Regions from separate parts of the Homo sapiens genome. Here all the other regions are linked to region 5. Evidence: promoter capture Hi-C in 16 types of primary human blood cells and fetal thymus (Javierre and others, 2016). All regions are on one chromosome and are shown on one strand. Each heading gives the region's core, a stretch centred on a gene start or on the middle of the fragment in contact. The rest is flanking DNA. Distances are from core to core; before and after follow the strand shown.

What was found. The method cuts DNA at HindIII sites, captures the fragments that hold promoters and counts their contacts. A CHiCAGO score of 5 or more calls a contact.
Region 1: the fragment with the promoter of PHETA1 here is called in contact with the fragment with the promoter of PPP1CC in region 5 in 14 of 17 cell types (endothelial precursors, total B cells, erythroblasts and 11 more); the score reaches 10.7 in endothelial precursors.
Region 2: the fragment with the promoter of GLTP here is called in contact with the fragment with the promoter of PPP1CC in region 5 in 3 of 17 cell types (non-activated CD4 T cells, neutrophils and fetal thymus); the score reaches 7.2 in non-activated CD4 T cells.
Region 3: a contact is called between the fragment with the promoter of IFT81 here and the fragment with the promoter of PPP1CC in region 5, in 2 of 17 cell types (fetal thymus and naive B cells). The highest score is 9.0, in fetal thymus.
Region 4: a contact is called between the fragment with the promoter of BRAP here and the fragment with the promoter of PPP1CC in region 5, in 1 of 17 cell types (fetal thymus). The highest score is 5.7, in fetal thymus.

What each region holds. Positions count from the first base shown.
Region 1 is chr12:111,366,473-111,371,457 of GRCh38, reverse strand. PHETA1 (PH domain containing endocytic trafficking adaptor 1) reads left to right here and starts at 2,363. Exons shown (of 3, transcript NM_144671.6): 1 at 2,363-2,546. LINC02356 (long intergenic non-protein coding RNA 2356) reads right to left here and starts at 2,197. Exons shown (of 4, transcript NR_187522.1): 1 at 2,138-2,197. RefSeq lists a silencer at 2,193-2,772. The HindIII fragment of the contact is 8,438 bases long and covers 1,792-4,985 here.
Region 2 is chr12:109,878,038-109,883,128 of GRCh38, reverse strand. It overlaps GLTP (glycolipid transfer protein), which reads left to right and starts at 2,588. Exons shown (of 5, transcript NM_016433.4): 1 at 2,588-2,857. The coding sequence starts at 2,755. It overlaps LOC124903012 (a long non-coding RNA gene), which reads left to right and starts at 1,728. Exons shown (of 3, transcript XR_007063455.1): 1 at 1,728-1,768; 2 at 1,955-2,014; 3 at 2,122-2,231. It also overlaps a transcript of TCHP not described here. RefSeq lists an enhancer at 1,505-2,006 and a silencer at 2,331-2,880. The HindIII fragment of the contact is 8,722 bases long and covers 1-5,091 here.
Region 3 is chr12:110,122,328-110,127,220 of GRCh38, reverse strand. IFT81 (intraflagellar transport 81) reads right to left here and starts at 2,864. Exons shown (of 19, transcript NM_014055.4): 1 at 2,360-2,864. RefSeq lists a silencer at 2,781-3,050. The HindIII fragment of the contact is 3,777 bases long and covers 1-3,151 here.
Region 4 is chr12:111,683,125-111,687,676 of GRCh38, reverse strand. BRAP (BRCA1 associated protein) reads left to right here and starts at 1,721. Exons shown (of 12, transcript NM_006768.5): 1 at 1,721-1,966; 2 at 4,370-4,531. The coding sequence starts at 1,885. ACAD10 (acyl-CoA dehydrogenase family member 10) reads right to left here and starts at 1,624. Exons shown (of 21, transcript NM_025247.6): 1 at 1,438-1,624. RefSeq lists a silencer at 1,849-1,948 and enhancers at 1,293-1,994, 1,995-2,696, 2,697-3,398. The HindIII fragment of the contact is 2,811 bases long and covers 1-2,518 here.
Region 5 is chr12:110,741,178-110,745,987 of GRCh38, reverse strand. PPP1CC (protein phosphatase 1 catalytic subunit gamma) reads left to right here and starts at 3,097. Exons shown (of 7, transcript NM_002710.4): 1 at 3,097-3,335. The coding sequence starts at 3,281. RefSeq lists enhancers at 1,518-2,102, 2,864-3,372 and silencers at 2,867-3,006, 3,167-3,226. The HindIII fragment of the contact is 5,862 bases long and covers 1-4,365 here.

The DNA of each region.
Region 1 (4,985 bases), core at 1,114-3,613, 630 kb before region 5:
CTGAAGGGTTTATCAGGGGTTTCCGCTTTTGTTTCTTCCTCACTTTCTCTTGCCACTGCCATGTAAGAAGTGTCTTTCACCTCCCGCCATGATTCCAAGGCCTCCTCAGCCATGTGGAACTGTAAGTCCAATTAAACCTCTTTTTGTTCTCAGTTTCGGGTATGTCTTTATCAGCAGTGTGAAAACGGACTAATACATATATCCATTAAATATATATCTATACTTAACCACTTCTCTCCACCTCCACTGCTCCACTCTAAGCCACCACCATCACTTGCTTGGACTACTGCAGTAGTGTTCTCCCTGATCGCCTGGCTTCTACTATCATTCCCTGCCCATAGCAGTCAGGGACCATGTTAAATCTAACACAGACCATGTCCCTCCTCTGCTCAAAACCCTCCCATGGCTCCTCATTCTTCTTAGAGTAAAAGCAAAATCTTTCCTCTGGTCCTTAAGCCCCTAGGTCACCTGGCTTTCTGGCTTTGCCAATAATCTCTGATCTATTGTGTTTTTTTTTTTGTTTTTGTTTTTTTTTTGTTTGACAGAGTCTTGCTCTGTCACCCAGGCTGGAGTGCAGTGGTGCAATCTCAGCTCATTGCAACCTCTGCCTCCTGGGTTCAAGTGATTCTCCTGTCTCAGCCTCCCAAGTAACTGGGATTACAGGTGTACACCACCATGCCTGGCTAATTTTTTTTTTTTTTTTTTTTTGTATTTTTAGTAGAGACCGGGTTTCACCATGTTGGCTAGGCTGGTCTCGAACTCCTGACCTCAAGTGATCTACCTGCCTCGGCCTCCCAAAGTGCTGGGATTATAGGCGTGAGCCACTGCGCCCAGCCAGCTGACCTATTTTCCTACTATTCTTCCCATTGCTCACTTGGCTCCACTGGTCTCCTCGTTGTTCTTCAAACATGCCCAGGATGGCCCCATTTCAGGGCTTTTGCACTTGCTGTTCCCTCTGCCTGGGACCTCCTTCTCCCAGATAACCACATGGCTCCCTCCCTCATTCCTCCAGGTCTGTCCTCAGAGAGGCCTTCCCTGACCACCTTGTCTAAAAGCTGCACTTCCAGCTTGGGCAAGATAGCAAGACCCCCCCGATCTCTACAAAAAATTAAAAAAAATTAGCCGGGTGTGGTGGTACACACCTGTAGTCCCAACTACTTGGGAGGCTGAGGTGGGAGGCTCGGTTGAACCCAGGAGTTCAGGTTACAATGAGCTGTGATTGTGCCACTGCACCCCAACCTGGGTGACAAAAAAACACAAAAAACAAAAAACAAAAACAAAAAAACTGCACTCCCAGGCTTTCTGCCCCATTGCCTTAGCGTACAGTCCTAGCATGAATCACTTCCAGAACTCATTTGTGTTGTCTTGATTCCTGGCTGCACCTGCTTACCTGGTTCAGGTACAGTGCCTGGCACACAGTAGGCGCTTAGTGAGAGGCTGTACAATGGAGAGCTGACCCTGGTCTGTCCTGTTCTTCCTGCTTTCAGGCCAGGACTTAATAGTGATTGGGAGGTGGCGGGTGGTGGAGAAGAGGCGGCAGGAACAGGAAGGAAGGGTTCAAGGAGGTGGGCAGGGCAAAAACAACAGCAATTCCTATTTCTTGAGAGCTTTCTGTTGTGCCGTGCACTTTACATATCATGATGGTCTTTATTTTCCGGATGAGGAAACGGAGGCTTAGAGAAGTGAAATGATTTCTCTAAGCTCACACAGTGTTCAGTGGCCTAGTGCGACTCGAACTCAAGTCTGCCTAATTCCAGAACTTCCTCTCTTCACCTGGAGCCAGGGGAAGCTTGCGAGGCGCCCTGTCCGTATGGAACAGTGCTGTACGCAAATGTCCTGGATTCAGCTGTTTTTTCTGCCACTCACACATTTTTCAGGAATTAGAGCTATTTTTCTAATTTAACTGGGCATTAAATTTGCTAAACCTGGCAACCCAGGTTTAGCAAATATTTTTATTATTTGTAGAGATGGTGGTCTCCCTCTGCTGCCCAGGCTGGTCTTGAACTACTAGGCTCAGGCAATCCTCCTGCCTCGTCCTGGGGGGAGTTCGGACTTAAGCCTAGGACTTCAGCGAATGGCCCGCCCAGGACCCCCAAATGCTTTTGCAGGCTAATCCACGACCTGGGCCAGTCCTTACCTTTGGAATCGCAATGAGCTTCCCGGGCTCCAATCCGCTTTTCTGGGCTAGGGAACTGGGGAGTCGCGAGCCAGGAGCGGACCCTTTAAGAGTGATTTCGAGGGCGGGCTCACGGGGGCGTGCCGGTTCGGGGCCTGCCAATCGGGAGGTGGGAAGAACGCGGGGGCGGGCCCGGCGCGAGCAGGCTGGGAAGGGTTAAAGGGGCGCGCCCGTGGGTCGCGGACTGTCCGGTTGCTCCCGCCTCCTTCCGTCGGATCCGCGCTCTCCCGCGGCTGCGCCGGCCCGGCCGCCCAGGAGACAAAGCGCTGCCGCCGCCGTCGCCGCCACCGGGCCAGTCCCGAACCATGGCCGGGCCACCCCGCAACCTCGCGCCTCCCGTCCCGTCGCCGCCCTAGGCCTGCGCTGCGAGGTAAGGCGGGCCTGGCGGGGGGACATGCACGAGGACATGGGACCCGGGTCGGGCCGCCCTGGGCCTCGGGGTCCCCCGGCCACCTGGAGAGCGCGTTGCGGGGATCTTCCCCGCTGGGACTCCGCACCAGTGGTGACTTCTCCAGCTGCCGAGGCGAACTTGGCCAATGACCACCCTCCCCTCTCTCAGCCCATAGGGACGTCTGCCGCTGGTGGGGACTGCGGATAAGCCCCCCATTCTGCCGCTGATCACCCATCTGGGGCTCTGGCTGTCCTTTAAGGAACTTAAGAGAGCTCCCACGCACAACACACAAAGGGACAGAGAGCAGCCGGGAGCAGGGCCACACCTGGAGCAGCAGCCCCTGCCGTGGACAAGGGGGCTGCCTGTGTCTGGACGGCGGTGCTGGCGTGTCTCTGGGGTCCCTGCTGGGGCGGTGACGGCCAGGCTGCTCTTTAGTGTTCTTGGCACACATGTTTTTCAGCCTGTGCCTGCCACACCCTCTTCCCCACGCCCGCTGCTGGGGGACACTGAGGGCAGCTGGATTCAACCCCAGGACCTGCGGTACTGGCTTCTTTTCGTTGATGTGAGTGCCAAAATGCCATGCTTCAGTCTCCCAGGAGACCTGGGTTCCGGGGCCAGCTGTGCCCCTGGAGATCTTGGATGAATTATTTGCCTTTTTGACAGCTCTTTCCCTGAAAGCTCACTACCCACCAAGTATTTTGCAAAATGACTCTTCAGGAGTCAATTCACTCAGCCCTTAGAGGGATGGAAGTTAACGTCACCATTTTGCAGATGAGGCTGAGAAAAAACTCCGACTCACAGCAGCTAATATTTGCAATCCATTTCCCATAGTTTGCCAGTGGGTTTTCCTTCTTTTAGCTCATGAACCCTCGCCACACAGCCCAATTTAACAGATGAGGACACTGAGACTTGGAAAGGTGAAACGACTTGTCCAAGGTCCTCCAGCCTGGACCTGCGGAGGCAGGAACTTTGCCTTGGGAGCAGAGCTGGGCCAGGCTCCCTCCAGCTTCCTGTCTGGCCATGGGCTGTTGAATCAGCAGCAGTGCCCACAGTGGACTCTGAACTTCTTGGAAAACAGTGTGGGGAGATAAGGCAGGGGCCAGGCCTTCGCTCCAGGCAAGGCTGGCGCCTGTGCCCCTGCAGCTTCCTGTCTTCCCAGTTCTGGTGGAGGCAGGGGTCATGGGCAGAGCTGGGTCCTGTGCCTGCTGGTGACCTTGAACCAGTTTGGCCTCTATCTAGGCAGTCGGGGGAGGAGGGTTGCTGAGCAGGAGGGAAGTTGCTATTCCTTTGGCCTTGATGGGGTGGAGAGACCCCAAGATCAGCCCCTTTATTTGGGTGGCTTGCCTGGAGCATGTGATTCTGGGCACAGTTGTATGCCTCTAGCCAACTTATTGAATCTCCCTGTGTCCATTTCCACATCTGTGAATGTGGGGTGAGATCCCTTGTCTTGGGGCTGTTGAAAGGTTTCAGAAGATACTGCAGAATGAATCAAACAGCTGTGTGAGTACCTACTGCATGCCAGGCACTAGAATTCAGACCACAAACGCCCCTGCAGGCAGAAATGACCCAGGTATTAATTTCAGGTGGAGGCACAGGAGAGGGACTGGGGGGCCTCTTGTGCATAGGGTGGCCAGGGACCACCTCTCTGAGGAGGTGACAGCTAGGCTGAGACCAAAGGATGGGGAGCTGGCCTTGTGAAGACCTGCAGGCAGACAGCCGGGACCAAGTCTTGGAGGTGGGGATGTGTCTGGTGTATTTGAGGAACAGAAAGGAGGCCAGGATGGCTGGAGCTGAGTGAACAAGGGGGAAAGAGGTAGGGAAAGGGAACTTGGAAGCCAAGGGAGGCTTGGATTTTTTTTTTTTTTTTTTTGAGACAGAATCTCACTATGTCACCCCCCAAGTTCAAGGGGTCCTTCCATGTTAGCCTCCCAGATAGCTAGGACTAGAGGCTTGTATCACCATGCCCAGCTATTTTTTTTTCTATTTTTTATAGAGATAGGGTCTTGCTATGTTGTCCAGGCTGGTCTCTAACTCAAGCAATCCTACCCCCTCAGCCTCCCAAAGTGCCAGCATTACAGGTGTGAGCCACCGCACCCTGCCTAAGGATTTAATTTTATGCTGAGAGAAGTAGGGAGCCATGGGAGGGTTTAGAGCAGAGGAGGAGTGTGATTGGACTTAATTTTCACAGGATCCATCTGTGGGAAGTGGATTTCAGTGTGGCTCGGAGAAGAGCTTAGGAAGGAGGCTTGGATCTTACCTTGAGGAACATGGACAGGGAGGGGCAAGGAGACTTATGAGGAGGCTACAGCAGCCATCCCAGTGAATGGTGATGGGGCCTAGAATGGGGAGGTGGAGTGGACAGATTAGGCAACTGATTTGGAAGACGCTGGAGAGGGGGATCAACTGGACTTGATGTGC
Region 2 (5,091 bases), core at 1,339-3,838, 860 kb after region 5:
CCAGAAGGTTGAGGCTGCAGGGAGCTGTGATCACACCACTCTAGCCTTGGCTACAGAGTGAGATCCTGTCTCTCAAAAAAAAAAAAAGAAAAAAAAAAGAAAACATTCTATAAGATTCAGCAGAAATGCACTAGTGATTTCTTATTGCCTTTAACATGAAATCCAAACTCTTGGCCAGGCGCGGTGGTTCACACCTGTAATCCCAGCACTTTGGGAGGCTGAGGCGGGCGGATCACAAGGTCAGGAGTTTGAGACCAGCCTGGCCAACATGGTGAAACCCCATCTCTACTAAAAATACAAAAAAATTAGCCAGGCGTGGTGGCAAATGCCTGTAATCCCAGCTACTTGGGAGGCTGAGGCAGAGAATTGCCTGAACCCGGGAGGCGGAGGTTGCAGTGAGCCGAGATTGCACCACCACTGTACTCCAGCCTGGGCGACAGAGTGAGACTCCATCTCAAAAAAAAAAAAAAAAAAAAAAAAATCCAAACTCTTCACCACTCCCTTCCTGCCCCAATATACTCCAGCCTCTGCCCACCTCCCTGACCTCAACTCCTATCACCCTACTCACTCTTGCCCTCACTTACCCATTCCCATTTCCTCCCCTGGCCCCCCGATTCCTTGCACCACACTAAGCTCTTTGTTACCTTAAGGCTTTTGCTCATGTGCCTCACACCCCAAGTCTTTTTTTTTTTTTTTTTTTAGACGGAGTCTCGCTCGCTCTGGCTGGAGTGCAATGGCACGGTCTTGGCTCACTGCAACCTCCACCTCCCTGGTTCAAGCAATTCTCCCTGCCTCAGCCTCCTGAGTAGCTGGGATTACAGGCTCCTGCCACCACACCCAGCTAACTTTTGTATTTGTTAGTAGAGATGGGGTTTCACCATGTTGGCCAGACTCACACCCCAAGTCTTTGACCTGGCTCTATCCTACTTCTCCTCTAGGTCTCAGCTCAAATATCACCTCTTCAGAGGTACTGCTCCCAAACCCCTACATCCGATCTCAGCCAACAGGCTTCAGTCATCCTCCGTCACTACACTGTTTTATTTTCTTCACATACTCATCAGTGTCTGAAGTTGTCTTACCAATTTGTGTATTGCATTGTGTTGTGTTCCCAACCAGATTGTCAGCTCCACAAGGGCAGGGATTTTGCTGTATCATTCACTTTATCCTCAGTGCCCAGTGCAGTGCATGACACATAGTGGTGGAGGGTGGGGGAGGGGTGGGAAGGATGGCAAATGTTTATTCTGGAATGAATAAGAGGCTCTCAACAATGGTGTGTTAGATTTTTGCATAAGCTGGGCATTGGGTTTAGGACATAAGCATCTAGGTGGGTTGTGGCTGAGATGACTTGTGATTCAAGGTGTGAGAAGCTGGACCCTGGGCTGTTGGAGAGACATTAGGTTTGGGAAACAAGTGTCCAGGTTGTGGGTGAATTGGTATAAACTGGGCTGGCTCCAGCTGTTACCAGTAGAAGGTGTCCAGGTACTTGGCATCTTGGAGAAAACACACAAACGAAGCAAGGAAAGCAAAAGCAAGGATTTACTGAGAACGAAAAGTCCACCCCACAGTTTGGGAGCAGGCTTGAGCGTAGAGGCTCAAGAGCTCTGCTTACAGAATTTTCTAGGGTCTCAATACTCTAGAGGTTTCCCATTGGTTACTTGGTGAATATTCTATGTAAATGAAGAGAATGAAGTGAAGTCACAGAGTCATTTACTCAGAATGTGCCCTATTGCAAATGGAGAGGATGTGCAAATGGAGAGGATGTTACTTGGTGGGAGAGGATGAATGTGAAGTTACAAAGTATAAATGGAGAGGATGTTTCTTGGAGTGTGTGGTCTGTGTAAATGGAGAGGATGAATGTGAAGTTACAAAGTGTAAAGGGCGTGAATGGAGAGGATGAAGTGAAGTTGCAAAGCCGTTTACATTCCTGTCATTGCTAAGGTGCTTTTTGATTTAGGTCTAGGAAGTCAGCCTTATGTTCCCTGCCTCCAGGCCCTATTTTTCTGCCTCACAACAGGTAACATCAGACTGTTGAGGGCAGACTGGACCCCAGATTTCGGGAAGCAGGAGTTGTCCAGCAGGGCAGTGGCTGAGTTAGACTGTGACTTCAGCAGTGTTCAACAGGTATAAGGTCATTGAAGACCAAGAATCAAGCAATCGAGCGTCCTCGTCGGTTGTAGCGAAAGAGAACCGTGACCAACAGGAGAGCAGTGTCCACCCAGGTCACTTGGGGTTACTGGGGTACAATTTTGGGGGAAACGGGGGTCCTGGGGAGCGTTGGCTGGGTGGGGCTGTAACCCGAGCTGGTGGGCGGGTTGTGAGCTGTGACCTGGCCCGAGTCGGCCCGCCCGGATTGGGGGGCCAAACCGGGGGCGGCGGGAGGCACACCTGGGGAAGACTCACCTGGGAGCGGCTCACTTGGGCCCTCCGGGACCCATGAACCGGCGCACCTCCTCTGCGTCCCGCCCCCGGCCGGCCCCCCGGCCAATGGGGGCGCGGAGACCTCGGCGGCGGGCGCGGATTGGGAGCCGGTGAGCGGGGGCGGGGCGGCGCGCCCGGCAGTTTAGGCGCTCGGCCGGCGGGCGGCGCTGAGCGCTCGGCTACGAGGGCGCCGTGCGGGCGGAAGTGGCGACGCTGGCGTCCCCGGAGCCTGCGGCGGGCGGCTGTGACGGCCCCGGCGCTGACGGCGGCGGCCGGGGGGGCGGTGTCGACGCCCGCGGCGCCGGCTGGGGCATCACCGCGGGCCTCGACCCCGAAATGGCGCTGCTGGCCGAACACTTGCTGAAGCCGCTGCCCGCGGACAAGCAGATCGAGACCGGGCCCTTCCTCGAGGCGGTGTCCCACCTGCCGCCCTTCTTCGGTGAGCCGGAATGGAGGGGGGAGGCGGCCCGCAGCCCCACGCGCACCCGAATCCTCCTTCCCCCGAGCATCCCCTAACCATCTCTGCCCTAGACACCCCTAAGTACTGTTTCCCCAGGCACCCAAGATCCTCTTTCCCTCCACTCACCCTAAATTCTCCCTTTCCCGGACCACTCCCAAGTCCTCTCCGCTCTAAACATGTCACATCCTGCCTGTCCTCCCCAAATCCTCCCTCTCCCTAGACACCTCACAGTCCTACATATCCCCCAAATGCCCCCTGATCATCCGTGCCCCCAACACGGATGATCTTCCATCTCCCTTAGGCATTCTGTAATCCACCATCTCCCCCAAAGCCTCCTGCCCCTTCTTCCCCAAAGTCCTTCATCCCTGGCGCTTTCTGATGGCTCTCAACTCGCTCCCCTTACAATGAATCCCCCCATTTCATAAGCCTTCTCTTTGAACGCTTCCAGCCTCTCCCTCATGGGACCTACAAACCCTTCCTTCTTCCCTCAGAATTCGCCCATTCCAGATCAAAGACTCCCATCTCCCCCTCCAAGGGTAGGAAGCCTGGTGAGGCGGGGACAAGGAGAGGGTTTTGAAGATGGAGTTGCAAAATTCCAGGGCCTCTTTCTAGGGGAAACCACCTAAAGTTTTTCCTCCTTTTAGGACAGGGGTGAGGGTTGTCGGGGGAGCTGTTTTGTGAGGTGACATCAGACATACAGAGCTTGGCACCAATTCCTCCCTCAGTTTGGGCTCTACGAGAGGAAGCCCCTCCCCTGTATGTCGTGTGGAAGTTCCTGGGCGCATTGGGAAGGCGGTCCACTTTCAGACCCTCTTCCCGCACTCCCTCAGCCTAGCCCAGTCCAGCCAAGGCCCCAGATGGAAAATGGGAACTAGAAGCCAGCACCACTGCCCCTGCCCTTTGCCTTTTGGGTCCCGGGTAAAGGGTGCAACCTGAGCCTCTATTCTCCTTCTCCATGTGGGCTCTGTCCTGTCCTGCTGGTTCACTTGGTGGCCTTGCAGGAAAATACCAGCCCCCAGGGCAGAGTCCACCTGAAACCCAAAGACAGGAGATCTTAAGACAGTCCGACTTAGTGGGCAAAGAAGGCTTGTTAGGGGTGGTAGTTCCCACAGTGTCCTGAGCTCTGGGATGGTTGTGGTTACCTGGAGGCTATAGTTCCCCTCCTTCACCTCGTGAGCCTCAGTGTCCCCAGCTGTGAAACGGGGATGCTGATCTCCTAGGGCAGCTGTGAGGAGTCGATGAGGTGGTGTGTGTAAAGTACCGAGGCCGTAAGTGCCAAATAGGTCTTCGCTGTAGGGGGTGTGGTTTTAAGTTCCTGAATCCAGTTTTGGTTCCTTGCTAGAGTGATTAATCGGTGTTTGAGGGAGTGCAATTGTCTGGTGTGTATGATTCCCAGACCTGGGTAAGCAACCTGAGAGCAAGGGCTTGGTTTTTTACATCCACTCTGTGTCCTCAGTGCCCAGAACAGTGCCTGGCACATAGCAGATGCTCAGTCAATACTGCTGAATGCACAAAACTTTCTTATTATCAGTGTCACAGTCTTGAGATAATACTGACTCTCCAGGTGGGGGCTTGGGAGCGAACCAGCTCTAGCATTGAAAAGTTGTTTAATTTTGTGATGTTGTTGGTTGTTGTTGTTTTTTTTTTGCTTGCTTGTTTCCTCTTTGGTTGCAGGAATAGTTCCAAGTCAGAGCCAGCTTGCCCTGGACAGGGATTCAGAATCCATTTAAGCCAGTGGTTCTCAACTGAGGGCAGTTTTGCCCCTTAGGGTACATCTGACAATGCCTGGAGGCATTTTTGTTGCAACTGAGTTGGGGGATGGGGCACGGGGTGTCTTGTGAGTAGAGGCCAGGGAGCTGCTCAGTATCCTACAGTGCACAGAACAGTCCTGCCACAACAAAGAATGATCCAGCCCCAAACATGAGCAGTGTCAAAGGTGGAGAAATCCCAGGTTAAACTCTGTGGCTTTTTCTTTCCTTATTTTCAGCGAGGTTGCACATCCGTTCTGTATTTGGGGGTATCATCATTTGATGCAATTATCTGGCTGGTTTTGGAGGAAAGAGGGAGGTGGCAAGCCAGAGCCAGCAGTCATCTGGTGCCAGGGCTAAAGAGCATCTCCTCCTCCCTTTCCTTGGTCTCAAAGGACCCTTGTCTTTGTTGCAATCCCTGTGCTGTGGGGTGTCACATCTGTTGACAGAAGTACCATTTATACA
Region 3 (4,893 bases), core at 1,615-4,114, 620 kb after region 5:
TTGTTGAAAGAAATCCAAGTATAATGGCTTTACTATGAAAACTGCAGTATATACTGTTAATTTTAACATCAAATGCTTTGTATATGCATCTGGTGTAACAGTAATCATCTGAGTTAATGTGGACAAATGAATAATAAATCCTCCCTACATTAACATCTCTCCCATACCGGTGCATAATTTCTACCCAGGAATTAAACATGCTCCTAAATTTTAGGAGCCTGACTGCAAGCCTAACAGATGTTTCTCCCAAATCTCCCAAAAAACATTGAGAGATTTTTTACTTTAAAATCTGTATTTCCAGTTTCTCTTGAAAATCAGATCTGGCAACCGTGGGCCCACATTTGTGCATGCCCACAACCAACTGCATCTGAGTAGAGGCTGCACACTTCAAGTACCCTTCTTCCATTTCTGTTATTGGTGTGGCCGGTAGGCATCCACTCTGCCTTCATTTCCTTTGGCCTTCAATGAGGCCACAGCCTCTTGTTCTCTGGTCTCCACCTCTCCCCATTCCAAATCATCTGTATGCTCCTTATTGCGCACAAAATACAGCTCAAACTTCTTGGATTTCCAGACTCTTTATGATCTGGCACAACTTATCCCTTTCCAACTTTATTTCCAAATTGTCATCTTTCTACCCCTTCAAACTTCAGCCTATTGAAACAGTCACTGCTCCTTAGTTTTTCTATCACTCTGCCTTTAGTTAATGTTGCTTTCTCTGCCTAAAATGACTGCGCACCCCTCCTTCATCTCAAGAGGCACAAACCCCCCCAACCATCTTTCAAGCCATGCCCACCAAACGCCAGCTCCCCCAGGAAACCTTTCTCAAGCTATCCTCCAGGTTCTGCAGCAGTGCCAACACCTGTCCTTCATAGCTGACCACACTTTATCTGTGCTTCTCTCCTAGCACTACTTTTGATCTTGTGCTTTTTTTTTTTTTTTTTTTGAGACGGAGTCTCGCTCTGTCGCCCAGGCTGGAGTGCAGTGGCGCGATCTTGGCTCACTGCAAGCTCCGCCTCCCAGGTTCAAGCCATTCTCCTCCCTCAGCCTCCCAAGTAGCTGGGACTACAGGCGCCTGCCAGCACGCCTGGCTAATTTTTTGTATTTTTAGTAGAGACGGGGTTTCACCGTGTTAGCCAGGATGGTCTGGATCTCCTGACCTCGTGATCCGCCCACCTTGGCCTCCCAAAGTGCTGGAATTACAGGCGTGAGCCACCGCGCCTGGCCGATCTTGTGCTAGTTCTTTAGGTACGCATCTTCTCTTCCCTGCTAAACTGTAAATTCCGTATCTGTGTCCAATTCCATTTTTGAACATCCATTGTGTCTAAAACAGTGATTCCTTCCACTAGATTGAATGAACTTGTTCACAGGCACAAGTACAACATAAGCCTAAATCTAAAGGAAATCAGGCTGGCAGTGAGAAAGATCATAACTTTTTAAAAAACTGAATATCTGATTTATTAACTGCTGAAACAGCTTTACCTAGGTAAATGCTTTAAGGATTAAAAATGAATTAAGCAATGAGTTGCTGCCGGGAGCTGTCGTTCTCTCCTGTAATCCCAGTACTTTGGGAGGCCGAGGCAGGCAGATCACTTGAGGTCAGGAGTTCGAGGCCAGCCTGGCCAACATGGTGAAACCCGGTCTCTACTAAAAATACAAAAATTAGCCAGGTGTGGTGGCGGGCGCCGGTAGTCCCAGCTACTTGGGAGGCTGAGGCAGGAGAATTGCTTGAACCCGGGAGGCGGAGGTTGCAGTGAGCCGAGATCGCGCCACTGCACTCCAGCCTGGGGGACAGAGAGAGACTCCGTCTCAACAGAAAAAATAAAATAAAAAAGATAATTTCTCCACAATGATGAAAAATTACGCACAAATAATTATTATTGCTAAGAAATAAGTCAAAAGAGGATAGGAAGGATAACCACCATGGCTTATAATAAATCTGAGGTTTCCTTTAAGCTATAAAAGGAAAACCTTTACGTAAGTTTTTTTTTAAAATCCATATTGGAAGTGCAAGTTTTCCATTGTTTAAAGTATTTTAAGTAAAAGTCCACGTCATAACCTTTGCGTGCAGAAATATGTATTTCATTTTAAATGATTTAGAAATTATCTATAGGTCTACTCTTTTTTCCCTTAAAAAAAAATCTGGATAAACTAGTACAACGTTTCCAGGAAGGCAAAATAAACCAGTTGGGTTCCCCCCAAGTCGCCCACCAGCCTGCAAAAATGGTCACTCGATAAGGACAAAGATGTACTGAACAGGAAGGCTGTCTGTGCCCAGCGGGCTCTGCGCTCTAAAATTAGCAAAAGCAATTACTGTCCCTCTTCTAGCGCGAAGTCGCCGCGCTAATTCCCAAGCACTCACCCACAAACGAGTCGCAGGAGGCGGGGAACAATGAAAACCAGGACGTGCGTGTTCTCTGGCACAATTTGGGAGAGAAACCGTGCTGCCTGGGTCCCAGGCTGGCACGAGCATCGACCCGCAGCCTCCTGGGAGTACCAGAAATAGTGTCCCCCTCCCCGGGCTCGGGACAGGGGACAGGGGACCCCACACCCGACCGGGCCTCTAGCGGGGGCTGCCCTGGGCCCCTCGACAGTTCATCCCTCCAGGGAGCGGCCTGGATCCGCTCGAATCCCAGAAGGGGCCCGATTCCCCTATCCGGGGGCTTAACCGCGACGACCCCTTCCACTTGCGAGGTGCTGCATCAGGACCGAGAGAGGACGGGAGCTCTCTCCTATTTCGGGGTTCAGAGGAGCTTCCGACCGCGAGTTGGCGAGGTTACCTCAAATTCTCCTCACGAAACCGTTTCCCCACCCCCCAGGAGGCGCCCGGGCTCTAGACCGCTCCCAGAGTCGAGCTCCTTGGCAACGGTTGCTAGGCCGTAGAGTTACGTCACTTCCGGGCGAGCGGCCGCTCTCCCGCGCGCGCGCGCACGAGCTGGGGGGCGGGGCCGGGCCAGGGCGGGGAGGACGGGCGCGGGGCGGAGCGGACGGGGCGGGGCGGGGCGGAGCGGACGGGACGGGGCGGGACGGGGCGGGGCGGACGGGGCGGACGGGAGCCGGGCTTACTTGCAAAGCGGGCCCACGTGCTGAGCCACTGCAGACAGCCGAGGGCATTTGGGACTGTTACTCCGACCTAGACGCGCTACAATAAGCTTCCCGAAAGTCCTGCACTTCGCAGTTTACAAAATACTCTCTGCATGATTAACCTATGTTAAATGCGTGTGATGTTTCATTCATTCATTCATTCATGCATGCATGCATGCATTCATGCGCCAAACGTGGGTGATGATTTTTGTTTGTTTTTGAGGCAGGGCTGGGTGGTAGGGGGGTTGGGATGAGCAAGCATTTGGCCAGTGCTTCAAATTTAGGTTTTTGACATAAGTATCTCCAAATTAGGTTATGCATAGGAACAATTGTAGTGAGGCTCTGGCAGGATTAAAAGAAGACACATTCATCATAGAGATTTCAGCTTCTGTGTCACATTACTGGGCCACATTGCCTGTACTGGGAATTAAATTTTTTTAAACCCAATACGTTTTGAGTATGCTGAGAGCCTGAAAGGGGGTGTGGGAGAACTAAGTGTCCTAATGTTCCTTTGGCTTCTGAGTGGGCTCTCTTTAGGTGACTGCAGAAATAAATTAAATCCTCCTTGTGGTCTTCATGGAGTTCACATCCCACGCAGGACGCAGGGAGATCTTTGTGCCCAGTCACTGATGAGGTTTAAAAGTCTACTGGAATTTGCACTAGCTGGTTTGTGGGAGACCTTAGTTGGCAAATGGTATTTTGAACCAACCTCTATTAGACTAGAGACCACGATACTTAGTGATATCAGCTGGCAATGAAAGAAAGAGAAGGAAAAAAAATCAAATTATTGATACCTTGAAAACTTAGTTGCCTGCTCAAACAGCATAGGAGAAACCAACTATAGCTTTAGCATCAGACTTACCACAACAAAAAATAACAGATTACGTATTAGGCATTTCCTATATGCCCTGTACTGTACAGGCTGCTGGAAATGCAGAAGGGCAGGACTTACCTGGCCCCTGCCCTGATGGAGCTGACAGTCTAGTGCCGGCAGAGATTATTAAAGGGGCAACACCAATACAATTGAGATAAATGCTGTAACAAGAGAAGCCAATGATTAGGAGCCCAGATTAAGGGCCTCAAGTTTATTTGGGGAGGGTGGTGCCAAAGGGGCCATACCATCAGGAAAGTTTCTGTCAAATGGAGTGATGTTTAAGGATCAGTAAAAATTAGGCCTGGCACCGTGGCTCACGCCTGTAATCTCAGCACTTTGAGAGACCAAGGCAACAAGATAACTTTGAGCCCAGGAGTTCAGGATCAGCCTGGGTAACAGAGCAAGACCCTTTCTCTACAAAAAATTAAAAGCAAAAATTGGTCAGGGGTGGCACCATTGCACTCCAGGCTGGGCAACAGAAGGAGACCCCCATCTCTTAAAAAGGATCAGTAAAAATTAGCCAAACAGGAAAAGGGAGAGTGTTTTGGGCAGAGGCAACACAACATTCCAAGACCAGTCCCTTTGTTGGCTGCCCTCTGACTGTTGAAATATCAAGCGTAGGTACCCTGCAGGGCTCCTGGAGAGAAACTAAAACTGGCCCCACCCCACAACCAATTAGGGGAAGCAACACTCAAAACCTCAAAGAATTAAATAACTTACATAATACTGACAGAAACAATACAAGATTTGTAGAAGGGATTATATAATTCATTGATCCTGTTGGGTGTGTTAGGAGACATCCCTGGCTACCTGGGTTTGAATTCTGCATCTGCCATTGTGTACCCTCTCTTTATCTTGCTAAACTTTCCTCATCTGTAAAACGTGGCTATAATAAAACCTTCCTCAATAGGGTTGACATGAGGATTAAGGGAGTTGAT
Region 4 (4,552 bases), core at 472-2,971, 940 kb before region 5:
GGTATATGAAACACTCAAATTAGTACCTGGCACATGTTGAAATGTTATCTACTATAGTAATATACTAAAAAAGTTCACAAGAGGTCTCATAGGTTTTATGCATACAGTATGTGTGTATGGTTTATGCACTTTCACATAACCCTGTGATTCTTCAACAGGGTTATGTTTTCTAACCCCAAGGAGACATCTGGAAAGGTCCAGAGACATTATTGGTTGTCACCACCTGGGGAGAGGTGCTACTGACATCTAGTGGGTCAGGCCAGGGATGTTTCTAAACACTCTACAATGCTCAGGACACCCCGCCCCCTTGCCAAAAACAAAAAAGAATAATCAGGACCCAAAATGTTAATAGTGCAGAGTTGAGAAACCCTGATTTAAACAGGGCATATGGAAACGTATTTCATAGGATGTAGTCACAAGATCTATATACGCATGTATCTTGTGGTCATGTCATAGTCCAGATACACACACATCTAGAACGCACTATGTCCACACACACACACATCTAGAATGTACTATGTACTTACATATGTATCATTATACAATGTACCTAGAGTAGCATCCTGTCATGTATGTGTCCCATATGCATTGATTGTGTCAGTATCTACATACAAAAGCCACTCTGACATACTGGAAAGAATGCTGAGCCTCAGAAAAGCTAATGTTATCTCCATATACATAATTCCATTTCATCCTCACAACTGCATGAGGACATGATATCATGCCAACTTTATGCAATGACTATACTAGTTCAAGACTGCACAACTGCTGATGTAGGTCAACCTCATAGTACGGACAGGAACTGTGTTTATCTTATACGCCAACGTATCTCAAGCATCCCAAGGGTGTCTAGACTCTCAGTAAACATTTGTGAAGTGACAGGGTGGGGAGGAGGACCCCGGTCTAACTGCAGCACTATGCTCGTAACCAGCAGATCACCATCTTTTCTCTCTTTTTTTTGAGACGGAGTTTCGCTCTTGTTGCCCAGGCGGGAGTGCACTAGCACTATCTCGACTCACTGCAACCTCCGCCTCCCGGGTTCAAGCGATTCTCCTGTCTCAGCCTCCCAAGTAGCTTGGACTACAGACGCGCGCCACCAAGCCCGGCTAATTTTTTGTATGTTCAGTAGAGACGAGGTTTCACCATGTTGGCCAGGTTGGTCTCGAACTGCTGACCTGAGGTGATTCGCCCGCCTAAGCCTCTGGGCTGGGATTACAGGCGTGAGCCACCGCGCCCAGCCAGATCGCTATCTGAACAGCGATCGACTCTCCACTCTCTACGGCCCCTTAGAAGGAACTTCACCTCTCTGAGCCTCGTTGTACCTATCTGTAAAGTGGGACAGAAACAAAACCATCCAGACTAGGGTTAGAGACAGGAGTCAAACACAACAAAAGGGGCAAAGTTCTGCATAGCAGATAGCTCGGACAATTCGGAGACCTCGCGGAGCCAGGGATCCCGCGCCGTCAGCCGAGGTGGATTAGGACGAGGCCTCTGGAGCAAGCAGAGGTTAACTCGCGACTGTGCGAAAACCTGCAGCTCAGCCTAAGTGTGGCACCCCAGCGCAAGCAATCTCCACGACGTCCTTCCGCTCCGACCTCCTCAAAATTGCGTCCGGAAGAGCAGTGGGTGACCCCTGCCACGCCGCCCAATCGCTGTGCGCGGTCCTGCGCGCATGCGTAAACCGCAGGTCAGCGACGGCGGCCGGGAGGCGGAAGTGGAGGTTGTTGTGGCTCCGAGGGCTGTTCGAGGAGCTGCTGCTGCTGAGGCGGCGGCAACTGCATTGAGGTGGTGGCGGCGCTGCCGGCCCCGGGCCGCTCGGCCTCTCGGCTCGCCTTCCAGCCTCGCCTGAGCCCGCCGGGGCCCGCGCCGGCCAGCGCCTGCCCTATGAGTGTGTCACTGGTTGTTATCCGATTGGAGCTCGCGGAACACTCGCCTGTCCCCGCCGGCTTCGGCTTCAGCGCCGCGGGTGAGTCCCGCGGCCTCGCCGCATTCCCTGTAGCCGGGTCTGGGCCCGGAGGGCTTCCCTTCCCAAAGCACTGGCCCGGGAAAAGCCCGCGGCGAGGGCTGTTGCCCAGGAAGACACGGAGAGGTAATCGGGATCCCTCTCTTTCCCATCCGCCTTTGAGAGGCCTTCCCGTTTGTTATCTCAGGGAAGCCCTGCCCCGAACCTCCCTCCCTGTGCCGTCTGAGGGCATTTAGTTTATACCTGGCGCGTCTCCCTCTCGAGATAGTCGAGTGGTGTGTTTGTCTCACTTGCTTCCCTATGGGCTTCGTAAAGGCAGGGACTGGGTCCCCAGCAACGCTGGACGGTCCCTGGGTTAATTAAATTGTTCCCTTTTGGAACGATATCCATTGAAGTGCCCCCTAACCATAGTCATAACTAAAATTTGGACACTTCCTATATCCCAGCACTGTACTAAGCACCTTTTGTGTATTGTATTCTTTAATTATCTTTGCAACAGCCCTAAGAGGCAGATGGATGTGACATGTACCTCTTACACATTGGGAAACTGAAGCTTAGTGATTAATTGATTTGCCCAAGGTTATCTGTAATGGGTGAAACTGGGATTCTAACTCAGTGAGCTGGACTTGAGTCTGAGCTTTTTACACCATTAACACAAGTGAGGAAGCTCCTTAGTGGGGAATGCAGCTCTGGCTCTGTTCCTTGGTCCTCAGATAATTAACTAACATTCATTCAAGAAATACTTGGCCGGGCGCGGTGGCTCACGCCTGTAATCCTCACACTTTGGGAGGCCGAGGCGGGCGGGTCACCTGAGGTTGAGAGTTCAAGACCAGCCTGGCCAACATGGTGAAACCCTGTCTGTACTAAAAATACAAAAATTAGCTGGGCGTGGTGACAGGTGCCTGTAATCCCAGCTACTGGGGAGGCTGAGGCAGGAGAATCGCTTGAACCCGGGAGGTGGAGGTTGCGGTGAGCCAAGATTGTGGCACTGCACTCCAGCCTGGGCGACAAGAGATAAAGTCCATTTCAAAAAAAAAAACAAAAAAAAAACTTATGCTCATATCTGCTGGAGCCTTCCTTGTGTGCTGAATCAGACAGCGTCTCTGTTTTAATGGCACCAGCAGTATCATGGAGGAAACAGATGAATTAAATAAGTGCAGAATATGTGTAGAATTACAACTGTGGTAAGTGCTGTGAAGGAAAGGAGAAACAATTTGGGAAAGTATTACAAGAAGATGTGTTTGGTTTGGAGAGAGGGATGGGGGCAGGTAGGGATGGTGTCATTGGGAACTTCCTGAGGACGTGACCTTTGAAGCTGCAAATTAAAGATTGAATATGACTTTATAGCTTATGAGCACCTTTCCAAAGGCTAAAAGTGGCTTCTGAGTTCTGAGAGTCAGCTAAATTGATATTAGCCGCATATAGACATCTGCATGGGTCAGTCATGTAGTCATTTATTCATCAAACATTTAGAGGGCTTCCTCTGTGTGCTCGGCACTGTGGTATAAGGGCTGGGAATACAGTGGTGGGCAAAACAGGCCTTGTCCCTGCCCTGACAGAGCATGTATTAGGGATATTTCAGTTAAGTCTCCAAATTCCGTTTCCCTTTTCATGTGTTTCATTGATTTAAGACAGTAATCACAGATGTTCATGGCTTGGTTCATGGCATGAGCATAAGCCAGGATGTTTAAGACTACCCCTACAAGTTTTTGAAATTTTGTTTTTTTAATGGACTTGATAGCTTCATTTTGGGCTGAACACAATTTCATTTTATCAGGTGTTACTAAAATGTTAGCTCATCTGGGCATGATCACTGTTGCATCTTCTCTAAGGCTCCCTCTTTGGCGATTTGCTTTAAAGTGCATGATTTTGGGCCAGGCGCAGTGGCTCAAACCTGTAATTCCAGCGCTTTGGGAGGTCAAGGCGGGTGGATCACTTTGAGGCCAGGAGTTCGAGACCAGCCTGTCCAACATGGTGAAGCCCCATCTCTACTGAAAGTACAAAAATTAGCTGGGCGTGGTGGCACGTGCCTGTAATCCCAGCTACTCGGGAGGCTGGGGCAGGAGAATCACTTGAACCTGGGAGGTGGAGGTTGCAGTGAGCCAAGATCACACCACTGCACTCCAGCCTGGGTGACAGAGTGAGACTCTGTCTCAAAAAATAAAAATAAAGTGCATGATTTCAGTAGAACAGCCCTGCATTTCTGAGTATATTGTCCTGGCTGCTTATTGACTCTTTGCTGTGTACTGCAGTGGTCCCAGAGTTGAGTGAGATGGATACTACAAAGGCTTCTTATCATCTTGGCGGAAGGCAGGAGAAAGAAAAGGAAAACCTAATGATAGAGGAATAGAGAACAGAGAGGAGCTTGTTTTATTACCTTGTATTAATCATTCATGTGTTCTTTAGCCGGGGAAATGTCTGATGAGGAGATAAAAAAGACGACACTAGCCTCAGCTGTAGCCTGTTTAGAAGGCAAGTCACCAGGAGAGAAAGTAGCGATTATCCATCAGCATCTCGGCCGTCGAGAAATGACAGATGTGATCATTGAGACCATGAAGTCCAACCCAGGTATGCTTTCTAAAACCCTGG
Region 5 (4,810 bases), core at 1,848-4,347:
TGATCCACCCACCTCGGCCTCCGAAAGTGCGTGAGCCACTGCGCCCAGCCACCAACACTTCTTCCAATCATCTCACCACAATCCTAATGCTCATTAAATTGGAAGGACGGAGAGAATAAAGTTCATCCCCAGCCTTCTAGAACAGAGTTCCAAATTGCTGGCCTAGGGCCAAATGTAACCCACAGATATGCTTTGTCTGCCTCACACTGTTTTAGAAGATTTTGAGTTCATGACCGACTTTTTAAAATTGGAACATTTAACATAAAAATCCATATGTTCAAGTTTTACCAAAAACTCAGAGGATCTGGCCACAAGTGGCCCCAGGGGACTGGAGCTGAGAAGTGGCCGCCCCCTTGGATGAAACGTGGGCTCAGTTTGCTCCAGTCCCTACCCAGAGGCTGAATTCTTTCGTATTATCAGCCAGGTCCCTTTAGGCACTGGGATCCCCCCTCAAAGCCTAAGTATCCTCAGAGACACTATTGAGTTTCCAATATTTGGCCACAGCCACTCTCTTCTAATCATCAGCTCCCCATCATCTTCAGCAGCCCCTAAGAAAGCTCTGTAGAGCCAGGAAAGACAGTTTGAAAAGTGCACTTTAATCCACTCTCCTCATTTGACAGATAGGCAAACTGAGGCCTAGAGAGGGGAAGGGACATTCCATTTATTAGGCTGTATCCTTTCTGACAGGATGCTTATATCAACTCATCTTTGGAAAGCCACTGGTGCTGATAATGGCAGAAAAAGGCGAATAGGGAATCAGTGCTTTCCTCCACCGGCTATTTGCTGGTTCCTGGGAGCTGTGAGGGCCCACCCTGGTGAGCTATGCCATGCTCAGGCTCAGAGCCAGCTAATCACTTAGGCATGTGCCAGCAGAACTGAACTCTGGAGGGGAGTTGCCCAGCAGAAAACAACCTGGGGACAGAGGCTCTCCCCATGTCCCAGCTCAGTCTGAAGTCCTCCTCCAGCCCTGATGATGTTGCAAGAGGTTAACACACCTGCCATTTTGCATGAGGAAAATTATGGCACTCGTATTGTGGGCAGAGACACAATTCAGTCATTCCACTGGGTTCCAAATTGATATGTGCCCAGTATGTGCCAGGGATGTGAACACTGCTGGGGGTTCACTGCCGGGTTTTACTGAATATGAACGAGGGCTGTGGTTTCAGGCTGTCCTGAGTTCCAGCCCTGACTCTGTAACTTCCTGGCTGTGTGACCTTCAGCAACCACCCTAGCCTCTCTGTGCCTCACTTTCTTCATCTGTAAATGGGGATGATAGGAATAGGACATAATTCCTAGGATTATCTTGGGGATTCAATGAGATCATTTTTTGGCACATACTAAGAAATGAACACAGTAGCATTTTTTTTCTTGTTTATTTTTCTCCACTGCACTTATCAGAAGCTGATATTTTTATTTGCATCTTTGCTTACCATCTGACTGACTAAATGACTCTCCATAGAAAAAAGCCTTGTCTGTCTTGATCACCCCTGCTTCCCTGTCTAGAACAATGCCTGGCACAGAGTGGGTACTCCATAAATATTTGTCTGCTGAATGAATTGCTGTCTTTCATATTTCTACCCTAAATGCCATTCCGATGATGCACCCTGCCCTGGAGTAGCCCAAAGTCCTGTGGACTCCAGCAAGAGCCCCCCCTGACCTCCATAGCCAGATGTTCACAGCAGCGCTGGGCACCAACTCCGAATGTCACCAACTGGGCTCATTGCCTTGGCCTGACAAATGGCACTTATGTGACTTCTGGTGGACAGAGCTGTAGCAGGGGAAAGTGAGTTAGTGCCTGAGGAAAGTGGATCGATAGGCTGAGTTCTGAAACTCAAGGGCCCTGCACCAGTAGCGAGGGGGCCCAAGTAAGGGGACATGGAGCCCGCACCCTGAGGACATTGCTTTGGAAGAGGATGCCTGGGTGGTGCAATTACCTCGTGGCATACTGAGATGGGGATTCGTGCATCCTGCACGCCTTGGGAAACAAAATGAATTTCTCGGAGAGAGGGGGCTTTGCAAAATGTAAAGCGCTGCAGGAAGCAACGTACATGGAAAGGTCAGGAAAGAGAGCCGATCTGTTTGCTGAGTGTGGGCTGTACTTCCAAACCCAGCCAAAGTCGACGCGCAGCCCCTGGAGGTGGCACAGTTTGGGGGCCCCTTGGATAGGAGTGCCCTCGGGGAGGCTGGGAAGCCAGAGAGGAATGGGCCAAAGTTTCTTCGGGTGTCTGCAGAACCCAGGACCGCCCGCGCAGCTTGCATCTTCTCTTCCCGCCCCCGGCCTGCACGCGTGAAATCTGCAAATTCCCCTTTTAACTGCTGCACGCGCTCGTTCAACTTTGCCCTGGCTAGAATCGGGATAACCGTCCCGATGATTACATAACTTTCCGAGTTCAGGGAAGATAAATCCAAGGGACAGAAATGATAAAATTTTCTTTGAGTATGGATTTTTTACCCCTAAAGTTACAGAAGTGCACAAAAAATATATATACAAATACCCATATACCCACCACTCACAATGAGTTAACTGTTACATTTTGACTTATCTGAAAGAGGGTTTTTTCTTTTTAGTTACCAAATAAACCTTTCTCTTGTCCCAAGTTCCAGTATATCTGAATCCAAAATAAGTCAACCTTCTTTTCTTTATTATTCTTTTCCATCCTCACCCCAGATTTATCTTAAAGGGTAAGTTCCAGGACCCCCGAAATCCCTCGGTGAGCTCCCACCTGTCCAGGTCTGCAAACATCTAGACTCAATGCACAAGATCCGGCGATGGCCGCAACCGGCGGTGTGCACAGCTGCATTTCCTCCCCCAGCCCCAACTCCCGCGTGCAACTTTGCAACTCTCGCTCGGGCCCGGCATTGGGGGCGGGCCTATTTACTCGGCCCGTTTGGCGGAAGGATCCCATGCGGGGACGCGGTTGCGCTCAGCCATCTGCGCCCCGCCCAGCGCCCGGGCCCCGCCCCCTCCAGCGCCCGGGCCCCGCCCCCTCCCGCGCCCCCTATGGCCCATAAAGAAGTCCCGGCCGGGCCGCTGCACTCCCCGCGCGCATCCGTGCGCCGCCCGAGGCTGTCTAAGGAGTCGGCGGCCATTTTGTTCTTCTCGTGGTTCCAGTGGGGAGAGAAGGAGGAAGTAGGGAGCGGGGTGGCAGGGGGGGGACCCGCCGCGGCTGCTGCCACCGCCGCCACCACCGCCTCTGCTCGTGGCGTGGGAAAGGAGGTGTGAGTCCCGGGCGCGAGCCGGCGGCGGCGCCGCTGCGGGAGGGTCGGCGGTGGGAAGGCGATGGCGGATTTAGATAAACTCAACATCGACAGCATTATCCAACGGCTGCTGGAAGGTAAGGGGGGCGGCGGGCGGCTGAAGGGGGAGGCGGGCCTGAGGGCGGCAGGCGGCCCCGGGGGCTCGAGGGAGGGGAGTTGGGAGGCCGGTTGGGCTTGCAGCACCGTGGGGAGTGAGCTCCTCGAGTTGGCCCACGGGCCGGGGACTGCAGCCGGAGGGAGGCCAGCCCGGGATTCCCAACTTGTCGCCAGCTGCGGACCCTCCAGGCTCCGCTCATTCATTGCACGAGGATGCAGGCTTCCTCCCGGCCGTGGAATTTGAAAACTCCGCTCCCCACCCCCACGTTTCCCGCCCCTACCCGTTTGCCCCCGCGCACTGGACGGGTCTTTGGAGCGATGGTTGGGGATCCCAGTCCAGCCTCCTGGACGACGTGTGCCGTGCTGTGCGAGATGGACTTTTCGGTGCTCGTCCTCTCGGAAGGCAGTTTGATGAGGGCATGAGTTCCGCCGGGTTTGGGGGCTCTTTTCCTGCTTGCTTTTATTTTTATTTTTCGTGGTTCTGGGGTCTTGGGGGGCCCATTTCTTGTTACTTGGTAACAAGCGTTCATGTCTCAAGAGGTGTGAGAACCTGTCTTCGCCTGCCCTCCAAATCCTTTTAAGTTGTTCTAATCTTGGAGAGGTCTCCGCGCTCTTTTCCTGAGCGTGCATCTGAAGAGGAAGCCAACGAGGCTGACGCTATCATTATCTTTCCAATGTGCCAGGCTCTGTCTTAAGCACTTTGCGTCCATGAATTATTACTGTAATCATAACTGACGCTTCTAAAGCGCTTACTGTGTGTCAGGCATTCTTTGAGCACTTAAGACAGATTTCATTTAATTCTCCCACCCATTGCAAGATATTTGCAATTTTTTTTGTTTTTGTTATTTTACAGAAGAAACTGAGATGAAGTCACTTAACCAAGGTCACACAGTTAGTGACAGTTGGATTTCAAATCCACATAGCCGGGAGCTAGAACCCTCTACAGACAACACTGTCACCTTATGTAGGAAGGAAGGTGGCCAGTGGTTAAGTAAAGGTTAATAGAAAGCTTTAAATTTCGGCTCATCTAAGACTTGTGAGGTGCCTGGCAATTGATTCATGTTGATGTGGGAGAGGGGCGAGGTTCAGCTTTTAAAGACGGAAGCTGAAATGAGCTGCTTTCAGATTCAAGGGCATGTCAACGGATGCTAACATCTTATCCAAGACTTTGTAAGAATTCAGTCATATCCCCTAACTTGGACACTTCATAATGGGAACTTGGCAGTTTCAACTGCTTTTTGCCTTTATACAGTCCTAAAATATTGTTGGACTATAAATGCTGTGAGTGGTGGAGTCGAGGGCATGAACAGTTGGACAGCTCTGGTGTTAGAATTTACAGATCTTTTAAAGTAAGTTATTAAAATGAAGCTCCTGAAAATATCTCGTCCTTTTCTTAATCTGTGCATTCTTTCCTTTTATGCTGTCTTTAAAAAAAAAACAACAAAAAAAACACTAA